Linked DNA regions of Homo sapiens: region 1 is linked to region 2. The links are contacts of gene promoters, found by promoter capture Hi-C in human tissues and cell types (Jung and others, 2019). All regions are on one chromosome and are shown on one strand. The core of a region is centred on a gene start or on the middle of the fragment in contact, and the rest is flanking DNA. Distances in the headings are between cores, read along the strand shown. Region 1 overlaps ATP2C2 (ATPase secretory pathway Ca2+ transporting 2). Region 2 holds the start of WFDC1 (WAP four-disulfide core domain 1).

The links. The method cuts DNA at HindIII sites, captures the fragments that hold promoters and counts their contacts. A contact is called where the count stands out against the background at its distance.
Region 1: a fragment that was not itself captured here is called in contact with the fragment with the promoter of WFDC1 in region 2 in 3 of the 25 tissues and cell types used here (dorsolateral prefrontal cortex, mesendoderm cells and spleen).

What each region holds. Positions count from the first base shown.
Region 1 is chr16:84,421,041-84,424,107 of GRCh38, reverse strand. ATP2C2 (ATPase secretory pathway Ca2+ transporting 2) reads right to left here. Exons shown (of 27, transcript NM_014861.4): 8 at 1,569-1,718; 9 at 1,411-1,479; 10 at 845-920. Among named protein-coding and RNA genes, the nearest start is that of ATP2C2-AS1, 45 kb to the left of the region's middle. The HindIII fragment of the contact is 6,725 bases long and covers 1-3,067 here.
Region 2 is chr16:84,293,402-84,296,450 of GRCh38, reverse strand. It overlaps WFDC1 (WAP four-disulfide core domain 1), which reads right to left and starts at 1,573. Exons shown (of 7, transcript NM_021197.4): 1 at 1,336-1,573. The coding sequence starts at 1,479. LOC124903734 reads right to left here. Exons shown (of 6, transcript XM_047435022.1): 5 at 2,816-2,934; 6 at 1,613-2,118. The coding sequence ends at 1,613. The HindIII fragment of the contact is 18,601 bases long and covers 1-3,049 here.

The DNA of each region.
Region 1 (3,067 bases), core at 197-2,696, 130 kb before region 2:
TTGTTGGTTTATTCCTTGATTAAATGTTTTACTCAACAAATATTTACTGAGAATCTATTAGGGGCCAGGCATGGGTTGATCCTAAAGGCTGGAATAAAGGACACAGAAGTAAGGCCAGATATGGAAAGAACAGGAAGAAGCCCCAGAAGGGACTGGGGCAGCACTATGGGGATGTCAAGCCTTAAGATCTAGATTCAGAACCGCAGCATCATGTCAATGCTGTTTGTTGTGTTACCAAAGGTCAGGAAGTCCCAGTCCAGGAACAGCCTGCTTAGAAGCATAGAAATATGTTTGGGTGCACAGATAAACTACATTTCCCAGTCTCCTTTGCAGTTATGTAGGCCATGTGACTCCATTCTGGCCAATAAAAGATGGTCAAATTGATGATTCCACTTCCTGGTCTATGCCTTAAAAATGTCCTCCACAAGCCTCCATGTTTCCTCTTTCACCATCTGCTGGCTGAACAGAAACATGGCCTCCAAGGACCCAGAGGAAGATAGAGCAGCAATGTAACAGGGGCCTGGGCCCAAGTCACTGTTTGTAGGCGAGCTATCCAGGAGAGCCACTGGACCAGGAATACACCCACGGACTTTGGACTGCGGTGTGAGCAAGGAACAAGCGTTTACTCTGTTAAGCCAAGAAAATGTAGTGGCTGCTTGTTACAGCAGCCAGCCTGGTCCAACTATACAGAAAGCTCTTGTTGCTTGTGGAGAGCCTCTGATCCCAATCCCCAAGCCTTATGCAGCTGAGTAGCAAGATATTTGAGAAACGGCCATGGCAACCCCCCTATGATGGCTCCCCTCCATCTGCAGAACAAACCCAGTATGGAAACTGCTTCACTCACCGATTATGCCAAAGGAGAAGAGTGTCAGTTGCTTTCCTAGCCTGTCCATGCTTTTCTGCAAAGGAGTTTTAGGTGTCTGAAAGGGTGAGCACAATGGGTTAGTTGGACAAGATCCTAGCTTCTGCCTGCCTTTGTTCAAAATGTCTTCACCTTGCCATCCTACAGCTTCAGTGATGATTACACAGGGGTACACATATGTCAACATTCATTGACTTTTGCACTGAAGACCTGTGCGTATTACTGTCTGAAAGCTGTATCTTTATCAAAATGCTAACAAATGTCTTACGTGTTTGAAAAGAGGCCAGGTGTGGTGGCTTATGCCTGTAATCCTGGCACTTTGGGAGGCTGAGGCAGACAGATTGCTTGAGCTCAGGAGTTTGAGACCAGCCTGGGCAACATGGCGAAACCCTGTCTCTATTAAAAAAAAAAATTAAATGTTTAAAAAGTATACTCATATGAACCACATGCCACTCATTCCTAAGGAGTAGGCAAGGCTGGTATTATTTGCCTATAATAATCTCAAACTCCAGCTTACAAAAGTCCCGAAGCCCCCTCCTGCCCCTTACCTCTTCAGCCTGCATCATCTTAAACACTTCTCCGAACTGAGAGCTTTCCCCTGTTCCAATCACGACCCCCTGTGTCCAGGAGAGAGAGAAGTATGAAATCTAAGGGCTGGGAGCCTGTGGGTTACGGGAGCCCAAGGCCTCGGTGTCCCAGGGCTTACCTGGCCCCTCCCATACTGCACCAGGGTCCCCATGAAGACGATGTTGCTGAGGGTGGTGAGGTCCCCACCGCCTGTCAAGGGGCTGTCTGTTTTACTACATGGCTCGGCTTCCCCGGTGAAACTGGATTCATCCACCAAGAGGTCCGTGACCTAGGAGAGCAAGGGGAAAAGGCTGTGGAATCTCTCTGTCACCCCGAGAATTGGTGTTAAAAGCACAAAATGGTACCAGCACCTTCATGGACATGAACTCAAGAACACAGTGAACCTACAGAATGAGTGTCACAACGACGGCCTCTGAGGCCTCCAGGATCAGAAAAGCTTTGAATGAGCGGCCTCTCTTAAAAACATAAAAGTCTCATATCTTTGCTTAATGTTGTTCGAAATTTTGATACAATCTAAAAAAAAAATGAAGGTGATGGCTATTTTAGGATATACCTTTCAAAACACCTGTGTGAGTCCCCACATACGCAGCCCACTCTTTACCTTGGAGATGCCTGTACAATCTGTATGGTTCCCACACAATCCCACACAATAACCGAGCCAGGTTATTCAGTCAGAATCTAAGGCAACAGTAACACCAGAAACACAGACAGGGACACAGAGACACTCACACACCCTGGCAAAGGGAAGGGAGATACTGACATTTGCAGAACACTGACTACACACCAGGCCCTGTGCGCAGCTCCCCACAAGGCTTAGCCCTCAGAACTCACCACCCCCAATGGAAGACTCTACTATCTTCCCCATTTTGCATATGGGGAAACTGAAGCATGGAAGAATTAAGTAATTTGTTCAAGTTTCCGTAGCTAGTTAGTGGCAAAACAGAGATTTGAACCGAAGCTCTGGTTCCAGAAACGATACTCTTAACCATCTTGCAAAACCGCAACTTGACCCCAGACTTAACACATCTCACTCCCGAGGTGAGGCTCCCAGGGCCAGAACCGTGCCAGACACCTCTGAGTTCATAAAGCGGGGCTGGGTGGGCCTATCCCTAGGGACCTGGTCATGTAAGCATGTAACACCAAGCTAGAGAGAAGCCATCTTCCACAAACCACCAGAGAACCACAGCTAGATCAATGATTCTCAAACAGGGACCTGCGACTTCTCTATAATTTAAAACTATTTAAATTTAGTAGTCATCTTTTAAAAATATGTGCACTGCCATAGCATCTCAGTCCCCAAGAACGACAGTGGCCGCCTGTCACCCAGGTAATGCCCGTCTCCCCACTTCCTTCCCAGTGGACCCCACAGCGTCAGGGAGGCGAGGCCTCCGGCTGCGCAGTCACATTCCCACCTCCCTGTGGCTCCCGCGGCTCCAGCTCTGGACAATGAAGCATAAGAAGTCACTGAGCGATGCTGAGGAAAGTCTTTGAAGGAGGCTCAAAGAACATTCTGGAAAATACCTGGCTGGGGCTCCTCAAAACTGTCAAGGACGGCCGGGCATGGTGGCTAACACCTGTAATCCCAGCACTTTGGGAGGCCGAGGCAGGCAGATCACT
Region 2 (3,049 bases), core at 324-2,823:
GGGAAGAGCTGCACACGCATCCCGTGCTACCACTGCAGCCGCTCATAATTCACCCACAAGAATGTACCAGGCGTCAACTTAATGGCAGGCACCAGGGGCACACATTAGTGAAACAGAACCCTGCCCTACCCCAAGGAACCTACATGCTACCCTGTTAGGCAACACCAAACAAAGTCACAATTATTTGATTGAAAGCTGCCAAGATGCACTGCCAGCTTGCTATGTTGCAAAGACGTTCTACATACTGAGACATTCAATCCTCACACAGGTGCTGTGGGTGCCAGCATTACCTTCTTGAGCCCTCTGTGTGCTGATATCGTCCTGGCTCACTCCGTCCCTGCGGATCTGTGATCTCTGGGGGGTGGGAGGAACCAAAAATGATAGCCTCCTCCACCCCATTCTCTCTCCTAGTTCCCTTCCTGCTTTATTGCTTCCTCAGCACTTGCAATCTGCACATACTAATAAATGAGATCTCTCTCATTTATTCTTTGCTGCCCCCAGCCCCCCATTGAGTTCCCCAGGCAGAGATGTGAGGCCTGTATCCCCACAGCCTAGGACAGTACCTGGTAAACAGTGGCGACCCAGACATAGTTGTGTGAAGAAATGCATCCCTCTGTCTTTTGCAGATGAGATTGCTGGGGTTCAGAGACGTCAAGCAGCTTGCCTGAGAGAAGCCACGCAGCTAATGAGCAGCAGAGCCCGATTCACACCCAGACATCTGGCCCCAGGGCATGTGTTTCTTGCCACTCACTGCCTCATGCCTTCTCTTTGTACTGCCATCGTTTGTCACCCAACTGCCTCTGCACCTCGGCCACGCCACCCTTGAGGATGGGGGCTGGTACCTCCTTTATCTTGTATCCACAGGACCCCACAGAGTGCCTTCCCCAGAGCGGTTTCTGCTAAATTCTGTTTAACAGAGTGTATTCATTCTGTTTGCTGAATGAATAAACAACCACATGAATGCATAAGTGTATTTCACAAACATTTGGTACTGATCAGGGAGACGGAATGCTCCGTTTAAATCCTGGGGTTCCGAAATGAGATGCTGTCTTTCAGGAGCAAGCATACTTTTGTAACAAGGCAAAAGTAAGGCACGATTCTTTGGCACATTTGTGATGTGTCTTTTGCCTCTTGATTCACAGATAAGGGTCCTTTTTTGGGGGTGAGCCCCATCTGCCCACCACACAACTCAGACACACACGGATAGGAAGACGCCTGCCTTGCCACGTTTTGGGGGAGCACTTACAGGAGAAGGCAGTGTCTAGGGATCGCCTCTCCTCAAGGCTGACTCCCACCCACACAGGCTGCCCCAGCCTCCCCATCCCAGGCACTTACACGGGATTTCTCGGCCAGCCTCGCAGGCAATGCCCGTTTCCAGATATTCTTGGCAGAGCCGGCGTGGAGGAGAAGTAGCAAGAGGCACAGAGCCCGGATGATCTGCCTCCTGCAGCTGCCCGGCCCCACGCCGGTTAAAGGCATTTCCTCCCTGGGCAGCGACCTTCCAGACGCACACAGAAGAGGGGCCCCCCTCGCTGCGTGGGCCTGTGAGTGGGGACAGGAGCGTGCACAGTCTGCTGGACTTTCTTAGTTCCACCCAGCAGGGTCCCTCGGATCATGTGTCCGCGTCCAGCACATGCCCCTTCCTCGATGGTGGCTGGCCTGCCCGGTTATTTTTAGCTTGCCCTATAACATCTGGCCCCAGACGCTCCAACCAGGGCGTCTGCAGCCCAGGCAGCTCAGTGGGCGGTGGCAGCAGGAGGAGGGGGCACCGGCTTGCTTGGAGACGTGGCCGGGAGTGGCCTGTCACTCTCCACTCTCCATAATGAGCACTTCCTTGCAGGCTGGGGCGGTCTCCTCCCAAGGAGGTGTGCTTGACACAGGGCTCGGGGCTGGACATGCAGGGGAGTGCAGCCGGATGGGTGGGGGCTCGGCTGCTACCTTGTTCACATTTCGAGCTGGGCTGACAAACTATCTGCCTATAAAAGCTTCTTTGAAAGAGGCTGCTGGACTGGCACTGGCCAAGGGTGCAGCCATGAAGAGACGACTTCCACCCTTGCACCCGCCGGGGTCCTCCTGCCTGATGTGGGCATGTGGGTAGTTCCTCATAGCGTGTGTTTCCTGTGAGATTTAAAAGAAATTGAGCACATAAAGCATTTCACACACATAAGTGTGCTGTCACTGTCAGCCGGTGTATCTGCACATGTGCATTTATGTGTATGCGTGTGTGCACGTGGGTGTGCATGTGCACGTGTGTGTTTTACAGGAATGTAGCACAGCGGGCTCAACATTTCACAAACTTCATATTCCCTTGTCTGTTCTCAGCACTTCCAAGACAGATACTGGTTTTTTGTTTTGTTTTGTTTTTCGAGACGGGTCTTGCTCTGTCACCCACGCTGGAGTGCAGTGGTGTGATCACAGATCACTACAACCTCTGCCTCCCGGGTTCAAGCGATTCTCCTGTCTCGGCCTTCCAAGTAGCTGGGATAACAGGCATGTGCCACCATGCCTGGCTAATTTTTGTATTTTTAGTGGAGACTGGGTTTCACCATGCTGGCCAGGCTGGTCTCAAACTCCTGACCTTAAGTGATCTGCCCGCCTCAGCCTCCCAAAGTGCTGGTATTACAGGTGTGTGAGCCACCACACCCGGCCCCAAAACAGACACTGTTTTGATGCCCGCTTTACAGATGAGGAAACAGAGGGGGCTGCCTGAGGTCATGCAACAGCAGCAGAGAGGAGGCTGGAACCCAGGTAGGTCAGACCCTGTGGCACCCCCCTAGGCGAAGCAGAAGGGACCCAAGCACTAGGCTTGACGCACCTGCCTGATCCCAGTTCAGCCTCTGCGAGATGCTGGAAAGCCTCTTGCTCATGGTCCTCAGTTCTCTCATCTGTGAAATGGGCATGTGAAAGTCTCTGCCTCTTGAGATCGATGTGGGGCTACAGGAGAGGGTGCCAGCTGTGCCCAGCACTTGCACAGAGTGAGTGCTCCAGAAAGATTGGTTCCTCCCTCCCTGGGGACCCTCACCCCCCACCTCCTGGCCAGCACAGCCTT